2 separate regions of the Homo sapiens genome follow, and region 1 is linked to region 2. The links are contacts of gene promoters, found by promoter capture Hi-C in blood cells and fetal thymus (Javierre and others, 2016). All regions are on one chromosome and are shown on one strand. Each heading gives the region's core, a stretch centred on a gene start or on the middle of the fragment in contact. The rest is flanking DNA. Distances are from core to core; before and after follow the strand shown.

Region 1 (7,566 bases), core at 4,702-7,201, 260 kb before region 2:
TAAGGAATCCTCATGGGAGGTTTCACACCGGAGCCTGAGAAGCGTCCAGCAGGAGAACATGAGGCCAGTGCACACCCCATCCATTCCACGGTGCATCCAGGAACTTCTCAGATGCTCCCGAGTCTGAGGTGGGGTGCCCTGTGAGGGAGGTGCTTGCTGCCACATGAAGGTGGGTCTGTCCATAGGCAGCAGCCCCAGGACATGCATGGGGACAAAGGGCTCTGCTGGGCAGTGAGGAGGAGAGGCTCTGCTGACCCGCTAGGCATGGGATAAAGCGTTCATCTTCTGTTGGCCAATCCTGATTGCACCCTAAGACCACAGGCTTATCCTGCTGGGTTCCTAAGAGCTTCTGCCAGAACCAGCTCCCTTTTTCCTCCCACACATGGAGCAGGCAGCCCTCTGTTTTTCTCTTCCATCAACTAGCTTACAAGCCCACATCATTCCACTGCTGGGTCACTTCAGAGAGTCTCAGCTCTTTGCCTTCTGTGAGGTCTAAGACTTCTTAGGGCCCCAGAGAACCCCCCACTCCATGCAAAGGGCAGGGAAAGATGGCATCTAGGTCTGCAGGTCTGCTTCGCTGAACAGAGGTGGCACAACTGTTTGCTGTCAAGCAGCTGATGAAGGGCACAGCCTGCAGCCAATAAGAGTCTTGGTCTGCCCACACCAGGCCGTCAGCTTGGCCAAGGACTGTGAGCCCTGTGCCCCAATTCCTTTATCTGTAGGCTGAGAGGATGACAGCTGGTTAGAGGGTGACATGGCTTCACAGATGCAAGCCCTTGTCATGGTGCCTCGCGCGTAGCTGGTGCTAGGCAGTGTGAGTGGGTGGCGGCAGCGGCAGCTTTACCCGAGGCTGGCGTGCAGCACAGAAACCAGCTCATGCACGTCACGATCTCTGCTTCCCCCGAGAAAACCACAGCCCTGGTTGTCTGGGGAGATGGGTTCTGAAATTTGAGTTGAAAAAGCTAGCAGAAGGTGCCACCCGGTGACATCCGAGGAGGCAAGGGAAGGACAGCGCAGGAACACGGAGCTGCGCCCACTCACCGTGCCCGGCTCGAGGCGGAAACTAATGAGCAGCAGGACCTGGGCCACCAGCACGGCGAAGGACAGGTTGGCGTGGATGTGGTAGCGCTGGTTCCGGATGGTGCTCACGGAGCTGAGGACAGAGGCAGGGTGTGAGGCCTGGGCCCTGCGCCGACCCAGTCCCCCAGGCTGGGCTCCCTGGCCCCACGAAGTCCCTATATCCATTCCTCCAAGAGCAGCCAGAGGGGTTGCTGTCACTCCCTGCTGTGGACCATCGATGGCTCCCTATTGCTCTTGGATCTGACCCCAGCTCCTTCCATGCCCACACAGCCCTACACAGTCTGACCCTGGGCCATGGCTCTGCTCTGAGTTCCTTTCTTTCCCAGCTCATGTTCCTGCTTCTCAAAGCCCCAGCTTATTCCAGCTGTGGGGCCTTTGCATAGCTGTTCCCATGCAGTAAACCCTCTCCCAGGTCCCCGCATGGCGGCCCAAATGTCTCCCTCAGCGTAAGCTTCCTGACCACTGCTGGGACCTAGCTGCACCCCTCGCTCTCTGCCCTGCTGCCTCGTGGCGTGATCACAGTGAAGATGTTTGTTCTCGCTTTTGTTTACTTGGTTATTGTCCAGCCCCCATCCAAGCATGTTCTCATCTCTCTTGGGCACAGTCGGGCCCTCAAAGCCGACCACACGCCTGTGCTGAGGAACGTGGGAGCGAGAGTGAATATCTGAGCACAGGGCTGAGGTGTCCCCAGGCCCATGGCCATCCCCTTTTGCCTGGCTCGGGTTCCACCAGAATTCCTGTGCCTGGGCTGGGGGCCTTTCCAGACCTTTCCAGCTAAGCCTGGTGCTCTTACCTCCACAGCCCCTCCCCTCTCCCGTGTCTCTTCCATCTTGAGATCTGGGTGCAGGCAGGGGCCGAGAGACTGTTGGGTGGATTAGAAAAGGGGACTCACGACAGCACGGCGAAGGTGACCAGCGTGGCCACCAGGCAGAGCACGGAGAGGGAGCAGCCCACATAGCTGATAGACGACAGCGCCACCTGGTGTCCGCGTGCAAGCTGCGGGGAGCAGAGCAGAGGCGTCAGCAGCAGGCCCAGGCACCCCATCGGAGCCTGAAGCTGCAGAGGGCCCAGGTGGGTGCACAGCTGGTCCCCTGTGAGTGTGGTGCTGACCACCAAGCCTGCCTCCCAGCCCAAATGTCTGTTGCTGCCACCGACAGAGGCCGGTGCTGGGGTTGCAGCCCTGGTTCTGTGCGTGCATGTCCGGTGCCCCGAGGTGCCCTACAGAACACTGAGGCTCCCTCAGCCACAGTCTCCAGACTGTGGCTGCCTGGCCCGGGCAGGCGCTGAGCCTCCTGTCTACACTGCAATACACAGGGCTGCAGACTAACAGTCAGCCCCAGAGCCAGACCTCCCGGGTTCAAGTCCCAGCTGGGCCACGTCCTGGCTGACAATCTGGGCCATGTGACACTCGGCTGTGAAATGAAAATAATGACCCCTCTCCATTCCCACAGTGGCCGCAAGGACTCCATGAATTTACAAACATAAAGTGCTGGAGCAGCTAGGGAAGAGCTGGTTACCGCCCCGGCCTGAGGCCACGACCCTCCCAGTCCCCGCACAAAGTAGTGCTAGGGAAGAGCTGGCTACCGCCCCCGCCTGAGGCCACAACCCTCCCAGTCCCCGCACAATGGCTGCCGCCTGCACACTGTGGGCCTCAGGAAAGCTCTCTAAATGGACACGGTGGTGATCGCCAGCACCCGTGTCTGCTGGGTCCCAACACCTTGTGGGAATGAGGCAGAACAGAACACACCTGGGGATTAAGCGGCTGCAGGGCCACAAAGGATAGAACCGAAGCCGCAGTTCACCGACCGCACAATCCAGACGGCGCCCCCTCGGTTCTGAAGTCGGGGCCTCAAGCTCAGACACATGTGACCCTGCGCTCCAGGAGGCTCCGGGCTCCTAAGCCACAGGCCTGGAAGGGCAGCCTCCCAGCTGCTCACGTGCAGGAGGGCGCCACGTGCTTCCTCCTGTGGCCCATGGCTCTTGTCAGAGGCCCAGCTGAAGCCTGAAGCCTGCATCATGCTGTCCCTGTCCGGCACTGAGGCCCCAGACCCCAGACCCACGTCCCCCCGTCCTCCGAGACGCCTGCCTCCAGCTTCCTCCTGTGGCATGCGGGTAGGGGGAGTCTAAATGCCTTCTCCCCGATCACCAGGACAAAGGAACAAAAGGAGGCCACTCTGAGTGTGTAAGGAGCTGTTGGCAATGAGGGAGGAGATGCCGCAGGCCCAGGGGGCCCCAGCTCAGGGTGAGGCAGGTAGTGCACTGGACCACGGGGAGCAACCTGGGGCCAGGGGGCCATGGGAAGCCCGAACACTCAGCAAGCACCGCCTTCAACTGTGATTCACAGCGGAGTGGGCTCACGCCCGAGGGGCTACAGACGTGCTAGATTCCTGGGTGCGTGGGGCTGGGGTAGGGGCAGCCTGGACGCCACAGCCTGTGCCTCCCATTTTAGCAGGAGCTCATTTTCACCCTGCAGGCCCTGGTATCTTCTCTGAGAACCAGTGCTTGCAGAAGGCAGGGCCTTGGCCTGGCCCCCTTCAGGAGTGAAACAGCTGTTGCCATGACACCAGCAGCATTTCCCCTGGAGGGGCCCTTTTGTGCTCTCCGGCTCAGGGACAAGGCAGAGAGGCTGAGGGCTGGGCAGAGCCACCTGTGCTGAACGCCGGCTCAGGCCTCAGCAGGCAAGGACCTGCGCACAACTTCCAATTTCCCAGGGGCTGGACTTCCCTCTCCACGGACGTTGTGGCTATCACGGGAAAGGTGGGCACTGCGTGGCCAGGGCCAGGGAGACGGAAGAATCCCCCTTCCAGGTTCATGATGCCCCAGGGAGAGAGGAGGGGCAGTCACAGGGGAGCCCATCAGTATCCCTGAGGATGAGAGGGAACTTTGAAGAAATGGGGCCCCCGTCCCCTCAGGAGAATGGCTGCGGTTTCTTGTTCTTGTTTCTGGTTATTGCAGAATCATGCAGTTAGGGGTAGGAGAGCCCCACTACTCCTTCTCCCATGGATAAACCTTTTTCCTTCAACTCCTGGGCCTGGCCTCCCATATTTGAGAAGACCTTCAGGCTGTTGACCTCTGACCCCTGGGAATCACAGCCATGCCCGTGGGCTTCCCTGCAGCAGGTGCCACGATGTCCCCTGGGTGTGTGCCTCCATCTTGGCTTCCCCTGACCCTCATGGGCTCTCCTGCACTGGGCTTGAGGAACTCAAGGTGGAGACTTTGGTGAACTCACACCGACTCTGCCCAGAGCCCACTCCCTATCGCTGCCTGGCAACACCCAGGGCACCTGGGACGCTGTGGGCGAACAGGGGCCTCCCGGGGGCCCGAGGCTGCCCAGTGCTGCCCATCTCTGCTCCACCAGGTGGGAGCTGAGGTCACAGGCATCTTCTGCCAGCAGAAGGGGCCTTGTGGGAGGGGTAGGCACTCATCAGTCACCTGCCGAGTATGTTTGGCAAAACAAGTTCCTCAACAGGCGGGTGCTGCCAGTGCATTCCCACCGCAGCATTCTCGGCAATGGAAACAAACATCTCCACCTGCAGACCGACGGGCCAAGAGCTACTCCCATTAATCGCATAGCCGCGGTGGGTGAAGGGAACTCAGTTTCTAGGCCACATTCCCCACGCTAAGTGTGTGACACTCCAGTTTCCGCATGACATTATTAGCAAATTGTCCATGAAATGATGTTTCTGCTTTCAGATAAGTTTGGAAAAAGCTCCATTCTCTGCACCCCTTAAAAGACTTTTTGGATGAATATAAAGCCACTTAAGAGTTCTGAGGATTCTGCAGGTAAAATAAACCCCCCTGTTCAGCTATGTTCAACTTGGCATCTCTTAAACTCTTTGGAGGAGGAAGGGAAGAGACCCAATGACAGCAATAGAGATGTGGTTTAAGAAGTGCTGTTTTAGAGGAAGTGAGATGTTTCAGAAACTAAGAATAAAACCAAATACAGGACACACTGACATTATACTGGATATGCAATCTTTCTAAGACAACTGAAAAGTCTTGTCTCTCACACTGATCTCTGCCTAGAGATGGAAGTAAGGGTCAGTTACAAGAGTTTTGGGCCTCAGCAGAGGGAATGGTTCTTGGAAACGAACGTCCAGCTCTTCAGCAGTTACCAAACTGAATTCAGTTAAAAACCAATGGAGGCCAGACACAGTGGCTCACGCCTGTAATCACTCTGGGAGGCCGAGGCGGGCAGATCACCTGAGGCGAGGAGTTTGAGACCAGTCTGGCCAACATGGTGAAATCCCGTCTCTCCTAAAAATACAAAAATTAGCCAGACATGATGGCCCACACCTGTAATCCCAGCTACTCAGGAGGCTGAGGCAGGAGAATCACTTGAACCCGGGAGGTGAAGGTTGCAGTGAGCCGAAATCGTGCCACTTGCACTCCAGCCTGGGCGACAGAGCCAGACTCCATCTCAAAAAAAAAAAAAAAAAAAAAAAAAAAGAAAGAAAGAAAAAGAAAAAAAATAAAAGAAAGAAAAGAAGAAAAATCAGTGGAAACACTGCTAGTAAAGGAAAGAAAGCAGTGGTGTCCAAAAGCCTGCCTGGCCCACTGCCCTGGGAAGCCCCCCAAGAGATGCACCCCACACAGGTCTCCACCCCACAAAGCCCTGGCTCCTCCCCACCCCTGATCATCTCTGCTCTACCCAAGTCATCTCATGTCCCACCAGAGGGATGCATATCACTCTCGGACACCATAGCTGCATTTCATGGGGCATCGTCTCTCCCCCAGGGACACGGGAAGCCCTGAGGATGCATTAGGGAAGCTTTTCCTACCTCATCTCGCAGCTCTAAGAACAGCAGTGAGCAGTACTGGGAACAATGGTAACCAGAGGTATTTGCTGAAGGCGTCAGGGGAGAAAGAGCCCTCACATCTACCCATCTGACTCTGCCACTGATTCAACAGACAGATTTCCTAAATCTACATCACTGATTAATATCTTTTAAATTGAGAAAATAAAGCTTTAGCTCATCTATTTGCAAATGCAGTGAGGTTCCAGTGGGCTGACATGAGAGTTCGCTGCACACTGGGCTGCAGTTGGTCAGCCAACTCTCTAAAACATCTTAATCTCCGTTCTTGGCCACCCATTCTACTGGGAGTTTCTGACAAATGGGAGTCTAGCCCTAGCCCCAGACCCACACCTACCCACTTATGCCTTAAGCCTTCCAACCATATTATCGATCAACCTTATCGCCAACCAACCATGCCATCAACCAACCCATTATCAATCAACCCACCATCAACCAACCCATCATCAATCAACCTTACCATTAACCAAGCCTACCATCAACCAACCTTACGTTCAAACAATGCATCATCAGCTAATCTGACTATAAACCAACTCCACCATCAACCAACCTTAACATCAACCAACCCATCATCAACCAACTCCACCATCAACTGACCTTACCAACAACCAACCCATCATCAACCAACTTCACCATCAACCAACCTGAACATCAACCAAACCGACCATGAACCAACCTTGCCATCAACCAACCCATCATCAACCAATCTACCAGCCAATTCCACCATCAGCCAAACCCACCATCAACCAACCTTACCTTCAAGTAATCCACTATCAACCAACTCTACCATCAACTGACGCATCATCAACCAAACTCATCATAAACTCACCTTCAACCAACCCACTACCAACTAACCTAACCATTAACCAACCCATTAACCAAATGCATCATAAACCAACCTATCAATCAACCTGATTATCAATCAAACCCATCATCAACCAACCCATCATCAACCAACTTTATCTTCAGCCAATCCTACCCTCAACCAACCTACTGTCAACCAACCCTATCTTCAACCAAACTTACCACCAGCAAACCTCACCATCAACCAACCCCACCATGAACCAACCCCACCATCAATCAAGTCTCTTTATCATGTACTTTTATCAAACCCACCCAAAGCCAGCATCATGCCAGGCACAATGGGGAGTACTAAAAAGAAAGACATATGGCTCTTCCCTTGAACTGAGCTAATAGCCTGACCAGGCAGCCTTGAAATGATTGTAAGAAACATAAGGCCAGACATATTGGAGGGTCACATGGTACATGGTGCTTGAGTTATAAGGTGAGCCCATAGGTAAAAATGATAGATGATCAAAATGACCTTTGAAAACTCCTGAGATCTCCCATAAACTGGAGTCTCCATGGCTTCTGCATGTAACGTTATACATTCTTCTTCCACACAATGGTCTGAATAATGAGGCCGACTTCAGGAGGGATCAAGAAGAAATGGCATGCACACGTCAGGGTCTGCAAACCTCACTGCTTCAACACAGCTTTCAAGTCCACAGAGTGGACTGAGGCAGAAGGTGACAATCTAGGTGATCCTGATAGTGGCTCACTGCCTTCTCTTTACTACAGGGACTTTCTAGTTGTAACACACATTCAGCCATGGATTTGTCATTGTATTACTTAACCCTGCAACCTGTGTTAAATGTTGACTCCACCACGA
Region 2 (7,162 bases), core at 2,216-4,715:
TCCCACCTCAGCCTCCATGTAGATTTCATTCAATTTTAGTGTTTGGCTGTTATGATGGTGTTTTGAACGCACTGTTGTGATCTGGTTGATGTTTTGACCCCAAAAACACCTTGACTGCATATGTATGTATGTAATATGAACAAAAATGATAAATTACACATTATTATTTATCAGGGGAAATTCAGCCAGATATTGGGCAAAATTCATCCCCAATATTTCACGTAGGTTATTTTCTATTTCCCCTAAGTGTTGGCCGGTCTGAGAAATAAAGGGACAGAGTACAAAAGAGAGAAATTTTAAAGCTGGGTGTCTGGGGGAGACATCACATGTCGGCAGGTTCCGTGATGCCCCCTGAGCCATAAAACTAGCAAGTTTTTATAAGCGATTTTCAAAAGGGGAGGGAGTGTACAAATAGGGTGTGGGTCACAGAGATCACATGCTTCACAAGGTAATAGAATATCACAAGGTAAATGGAGGCAGGGCGAGATCACAGGACCACAGGACCGGGGAGAAATTAGAATTGCTAATGAAGTTTCGGGCAGGCACTGTCATTGATAACATCTTATCAGGAAACAGGGTTTGAGAGCAGACAACTGGTCTGACCAAAATTTATTAGGCGGGAATTTCCTCGTCCTAATAAGCCTGGGAGGGCTACAGGAGACTGGGGCTTATTTCATCCCTACAGCTGCGATCTGTATATACATATAGCTTGTATGTACTATATGTGTGTATATAGCATGTATACACTATATGTGTGTGTATAGTATGTATATACTATATATTTATAGTGCATGTGTGTATGTGTATATATATATTTTTTTAGACAGGGTCTCACTCTGTTGCCCAGGCTGGAGTGCAGTGGCACAGTCACAGCTCACTTCAGCCTTAACCTCCTGGGCTCAAGCAATCCTCCTGCCTCAGCCTCCTGAGTAGTCTACAGGCACATGCCACCATGCCCAGCCACCCCCAAAGCGGCCATTTCAGAGGCCTACCCTCAGGGATGCTTTCTCTTTCTCAGGGATGTTCCTTGCTGAGAAAAAGAATTCAGCAATATTTCTCCCATTTGCTTTTGAAAGAAGAGAAATACGGCTCTGTTCCGCCTGGCTCACCGGCAGTCAGAGTTTAAGGTTATCTCTCTTGTTCCCTGAACATTGCTGTTATCCTGTTCTTTTTTCTAGGTGCCCAGATTTCATATTGTTCAAACACACATGCTCTACAAACAATTTGTGCAGTTAACAAAATCATCACAGGGTCCTGAGGCGACATACATCCTCCTCAGCTTACGAAGATGATGGGATTAAGAGATTAAAGTAAAGACAGGCCTAGGAAATCACAAGGGTATTGACTGGGGAAGTGATAAGTGTCCATGAAATCTTCACAATTTATGTTCAGAGATTACAGTAAAGACAGGCATAAGAAATTATAAAAGTATTAATTTGGGGAACTAATAAATGTCCATGAAATCTTCATAATTTATGTTCTTCTTCCATGGCTTCAGCCGGTCCCTCCATTCAGGGTCCCTGAATTCCCACAACGATTATTCACAACTTCATTTTTTTTCTCTGGCAGGATAAGGAAAGTTTTGAGGTTGGGCATGGTGGGCTCATGTCTGTGGTCCCTGTGCTTTTGGAGGCTGAGGTGGGAGGATTACTTGAGCCCAGGAGTTCAAGGCGGCAGTGGACTATGACCATGCCACTGCACTCCAGTCTGGGAGACAGAATAAGACTCTGTCTCAAACAAACAAACAAACAAACAAAAAGTTTTGGTTGCCAATTCAACACCATCCAGCTGCTGCCAATATTATCATATGTTTTTGAAAAATCCACTGGGAGAGAGGGAGAAACGAGGGAGGGCCCAGTATTTACCAGAGAGGGAGAATTAAAATGGTGGTGGCAGAGGCAAGAAGGCCGAAAGAAAAGCACTTGCCTGTTGCGGGGTCCAGGAGGCATTCTGGTGGGGAAGTTCAGGATATGGAGAGAAAAAACATATCTTTTTTTTTTTTTTGGAGACGGAGTCTCGCTTTACTGTCCAGGCTGGAGTGCAGTGGTGCGATCTTGGCTCACTGCAAGCTCCACCTCCCGGGTTCAAGCAATTCTCATGCATCAGCCTCCTGAGTAGCTGGGATTACAGGTGCCCGCCACCACACTCACCTGGACAACTGGCTGTCAAGACCTTCCATCGGGTAACAGAACCACATCACACCTAGAACCAAGTCCAAAACGTCCTGTTTTTTAATGTGTAGCCTGTTGCTCTCAAGCAGATTTCTTAGCGCTGCCTTCTGGTCAGACCAAAGCCACCTCCTCCAGGAGGCAGTAAAGACTTTAACCTTGTTTAAAAACAAATCTGGCCTTGCCTTCTCCTCCTGGAAGGCAATCTTTGTTTGCCTGGGAGTCTTCGGCTAGCCAGAGAGTAACAGTGTGATTTATGGTGGGGGCTTAGGGTTACATGGATATCACTTAACCAAGAGGCTGAGATCAAGCATGAAAGCAATCAAACAATCAATCAATCATGCACATGCAATGGAGCCCAGTAAACGTTCTGCACACTGTGGCTCAAGTGAGCTTCCCTGGCTGGCAGTACTTCGTGTGTAAGGCCACACATCAGTGCAGGGCAAGTAATGAGGCCTGACTACACAGGGAGAGGACCACGGGAGGACCTTGAAGCTGCACGCCGTAATCCCCAGACTCCCCCTCTGCCCTTCTTCCTTGGCTGATGTTAATCCGTATCATTTTCCTGCTAAGAAACCATAGTTGTGAGTACAGTAGTTTTTAGTGTATTCTGTGATTCCTTCTAGCAAATTATGGAACTTGAAGGTGGTTTTGGAAACCGCCAGAATTTGCCGTTGGTGTCAGAGGTGATAATGGTCTTGGGGACTGTTCCCCCAACCTGGGTAGTTCACCTAAGCTCCTGCACCTTCATGACGACCTCTCTGCCAGTTCCGTGCCCATGCCCTTACTTTCTTTTCTCATCTATCATTTATTTGTCTGTGTCTGTATTGCCTGTTTCTCCTGCCAGAATGGTATCCCAGGGCTGGGCCTGCGGACGCTCTTCCCGTTACCGCCCCCTGCCGTGTTATGCTCCGTAAGCATCATGTGTGGTACACGATCTCTTCTCCTTCATTCACACCCGAGGCTGCGCGTGGACCCTTAAAGAGAAGGTTCGGCATATGTATTACCCAAAGCTGCACCCAGCACATTCCGGGAGCTTTGCTCTTTTGTCACTATTCGTTGAATGCTCTATATTTTGATAAATAAAACAATGAGTGTGAAAGCATAAAAGCAGATCAAGGGACAAACAGCACGTGTAGCGGAACTGCCAGCCTGGGGCTCGGCCGGACCCCGCCCCTCCCCGCCTAGGCCCCGCCCCCAGGCCCCGCCCCTCCGGGCTCCCGCTGGAAAGCGCTGCCGCCGTGTGGGTGGGTGCGGGGCGCGGCGCGGGCCGGGCATGCGCAGAGCGCGCGGGGCGCGGTTGCCGTGGCAGCGCCGGCTCCAGGGAGGGCTGCTGGCGCCGGGCCGGGACCGCGGGGCCTGAGGCGGAGACCGGAGAGCCCGAGGCCCGGCCGGAGGCAGCTCGGGACAGGCTTGAGCGGCGGGGCGCGCTGCCCGGCCGGCGGGGATGCGGGACCGGCTGCCAGACCTGACGGCGGTGAGCGGCAGCCGCGGGTAGCGGTTCAGGCCCGGCCGGGGCGGCGTCTGGAGGGCGGGCGGGGGCTCGGGGCGTCTTGGGCGGGGCTCCGGGAGGGTCCCCAGGGCGGGGATCTCCGGCGTTCTGGGGCGGGGGCTGCGGGCAGGGTCTCAGGGAGTCCTGAGCGGGGACTGCTGGTGGGGTCCCCAGGGCGGGGGTCCCGGGAGTCCTAGGGTGGGGGCTCCGGGCGGGGTCCCCAGGGCTTCCTGGGCGGAGTCCTCAGGGCGGGTTGGGGCAGGAGGAGGGAGCGGGGAAGGTCCCGGCCTCGACCCCCTCTTCGAGCGTGGCTCCCTGTCCGTCACTCCGCTTGGCGGATTGTATCTGGCGCTTACCCAGCCGGAGCCCACTGGCCTAACTGTGGTCCGCCCCACGGGGTCCCCGCAGCTGGCGTCAGCCCCGGGGAGCAGGCCGGGTCCTCTTGGTCGCTGCTTTATCCCTGGGGCTTCACAAAGGACTGTGCACCAAGCGGGAGGCAACAGATGGGTGTGAAATGTGGGCACCTTAGAGTGCTGGGTGCTTGGGGTGGGGCGAGCGCGAACAGCAGCTTGTGTCTGATCTCCCAGTAGTTTGCTTTGGAAACTGGGACCGTGTGTTGACTCTGAACGCACCTTACGCGCCCAGCAGCCGGGCACACAGCAAGTTACTGTTTACTTTAGCAAGGGAAAAGCAGGTCACTAAAAATTTTGGAAGGATTTCGATGCATTCTACACGTGTAAAGGTGACAGGACTGTGCATGGTGCAGTGACAGCGGAATGATAGTGATGGTCGTGCACTTTCCAAGCTTGTCTAACCCAGGACGGCTTAGGCCAGCAGAAGTAGTTATGACTTTTTCCCTTTACAATACAGGTACTAATTCATGCTACGTGTGTGCACAGATAGAGCCTCTGGTCTCTAAATTGTTGGCAGCCTCAGAACAGGGGTGCTAAGGCCCACAGCCCTACGACACCCACTGCATGTAATGAATTATTCTCTCTCCTCTGCTGCTAGAATGGAGCTGTTATGTACCCCCGAGTGGGAGAATAGAGAAAAGAGCCACTTAAATCATTATCTGTGTTCTGTGGTTCAGATGAGGAGCTCTGGTTGAGAAAGGCAATGATTTCATCCTTAGGATCATGGAAATTATGCTTTATATTCATTCCAAGGAAGTTTCTTCACGGTGATTTTTCCTTTTTTATTAATGGACAAATATTCCCTGTGTTCCGCAGATCAATATCATCTTAAACACAGCAAATTATAGTTGTGTTGTCTTGCCCGATGGATTATCTTTCAGTGCCGTGTAGTAGGAGCTCAGGTATTTATTTAATGAAGAAAAGCTGTGGCTCACTCCTGTAATCCCAGCAGTCTGGGAGATCAGGGTGGGGGCATCACTTGAGCCCAGGTATTGGAGACCAGCTTGGGCAACACAGGGAGACACTGTTTCTCGAAAAAAATTAAAAAATTAGCAGGAGGCCAGTCGCAGTGGCTCATGCCTGTAATCCCAGCACTTTGGGAGGCCGAGTTGGGTGGACCACTTGAGGTCAGGAGTTGGAGACTAGCCTGGCCAACATGGCAAAACCCCGTTTCTACTAAAATAGCCGGATGTCATGGCGCACACCTGTAGTCCCAGCTACTCTGGAGGCTGCGGCAGGAGCATCGCTTGAATCCAGGAGGCGGAGGTTGCAGAAAGCCGAGATTGTGCCACTGTACTCCAGTCTGGGCAACAGAAAGAGACTCTGTTTCAGAAAAACCAACAAAACAAAGCACGCACAAAAAAACTATCCAGGTGTGACTCGCACCTGTAGTCCTTGGTACTCAGGAGGCTAAGCTAGGAGGATTCCTTGAGCCCAGGAGATAGAGGCTGCAGTGAGCCATGATTGTGCCATGCCACTGCACTCCCGCCTGGGTGACAGAGTGAGACATTGTCTCATAAAAAAAAAAAAAAAAAGCTCAATGTCATTGAACGTGAGAGCTGTGACTATTTTGGCAAAATACAGCCAAATTTATATGTTGGGGAATCGTGAGAAAGTACGTTTTCTTGGCTTGAATAGCAAAAAGCAAATAAGGCAATTATTTGTCACTCAGTTTCTATATATCCAAACCCTTCCTGAAACAGTAGAACATGTCAATCAGTTTTGTTCTAGAACGGCAGAGCTAGAAGTCAGCTCATCTACTTCAATACCATCCTGCTTTAGACACAGCAGCTGAGCAGTCAGAGAGTATATCCGTGGAAGTTTCCACTCATGGAGTTTCTCATCTTGGGCAAATAATTTTTAAATCTCTCAAAACTTTTTCTTGTACGTGAAATGGGGACAGTGGTATCTCTCTTGTCCACCTCATAGAGGGAGTTATGAAGCATAAAATTATCTAATGTGTGAAGCTCTGGGAGAAGGTGGGAGGGAGCAAGTGCTATGTAATTATAAGTGTGATTAATGTTTACCAGATTTTTTGTTTTTAGGGAGTTATAAAAAGCAGCCTTCTGGCTGGGCACAGTGGCTTTCACTTGTAGTCCCAGCACTTTGGGAGGCTGAGGTGGGCAGATCATTTGAGCTCAGGAGTTCAAGACCAGCCTGGGCAACATGGCAAAACCCTGTCTTTACAAAAAACATACAAAAACTCAGCCAGGTGTAGTGGTGCATGCCTGTGGTTCCAGCTACTCAGGAGGCTGAGGTGGGAAGATTGCTTGAGTCCAGGAGGCGGAGGTTGCAGTGAGCCAAGATTTTGCCACTGCCCTCCAGCCTGGGCAACAGACAGATTGAGACCCTGTCTCAAAAAAAGAGAAAAGAACAACCTTCTCCCTAGTATAAAATAGTAAGTTAAAACTGAATTTGAAGTTTAATAACTTTTAATATTTAAAAACCCATCTTAAAGTTACCAGATACAAGTTTAATTCCCCTCCCCCGCCCCGCCCCAGGAAATGTGTCCTTTCCCAGTAGTTCTTAGAGTAGTTGAATGTGTACTCACAACCGTGCTTGTAAATGGCTGGTGTTTTTTTCTAGGTAAAGTTGAATATTTTGTTGGTTAAAATGCCTCATCAACAATGTCTGATTAACAAAGTATTTGTGATGCTTCCATGAAGTTTCTTTTCTTAGCTGCTGATGCTTGTTCCTGTGAAGAACGTGCCTCTGACAGTTACGTGGACAGGGCTTAAAGAGTAATCTGCTCAATACAATCTGTACTGACAGATGTAGTTTCTAACCAGTGATGCTGTTTTTGAGCAACCAGTCATTTGGGCATAGAAAGTTTGCGTGACTTGGTCCAGATCTCTGACACTCTAAATCCAGAAAGATATTTCTGATTTACAGAAAGTAAAAGACTCGCCCATCCAGCAGGTACTTGAATGTCAGGCCTCTAGCAGATCATGTGCTGGGTGCAGAGAGACACAGCAGTGAACTGAGCGTGGGTGGGGATGCATGCAGCCTGGGAAGGAAGAGTGACCGAGGTGTAATGAAATTCACTGTAGGACGTAAGCAAAATGGAATAGCTATTCTATAAGATAACC

What was found. Contacts are between HindIII fragments. The CHiCAGO score rates a contact against its expected background, and 5 or more counts as called.
Region 1: a fragment that was not itself captured here is called in contact with the fragment with the promoter of STX2 in region 2 in 5 of 17 cell types (naive CD4 T cells, total CD8 T cells, naive CD8 T cells and 2 more); the score reaches 7.8 in naive CD4 T cells.

The regions. Positions count from the first base shown.
Region 1 is chr12:131,099,341-131,106,906 of GRCh38, reverse strand. It overlaps ADGRD1 (adhesion G protein-coupled receptor D1), which reads right to left. Exons shown (of 25, transcript NM_198827.5): 16 at 1,973-2,076; 17 at 1,042-1,153. Among named protein-coding and RNA genes, the nearest start is that of LINC01257, 62 kb to the left of the region's middle. RefSeq lists an enhancer at 1,803-1,872. The HindIII fragment of the contact is 196 bases long and covers 5,854-6,049 here.
Region 2 is chr12:130,835,553-130,842,714 of GRCh38, reverse strand. STX2 (syntaxin 2) reads left to right here and starts at 3,465. Exons shown (of 11, transcript NM_194356.4): 1 at 3,465-3,645. The coding sequence starts at 3,616. RefSeq lists silencers at 3,262-3,771, 3,842-3,901. The HindIII fragment of the contact is 18,553 bases long and covers 1-4,467 here.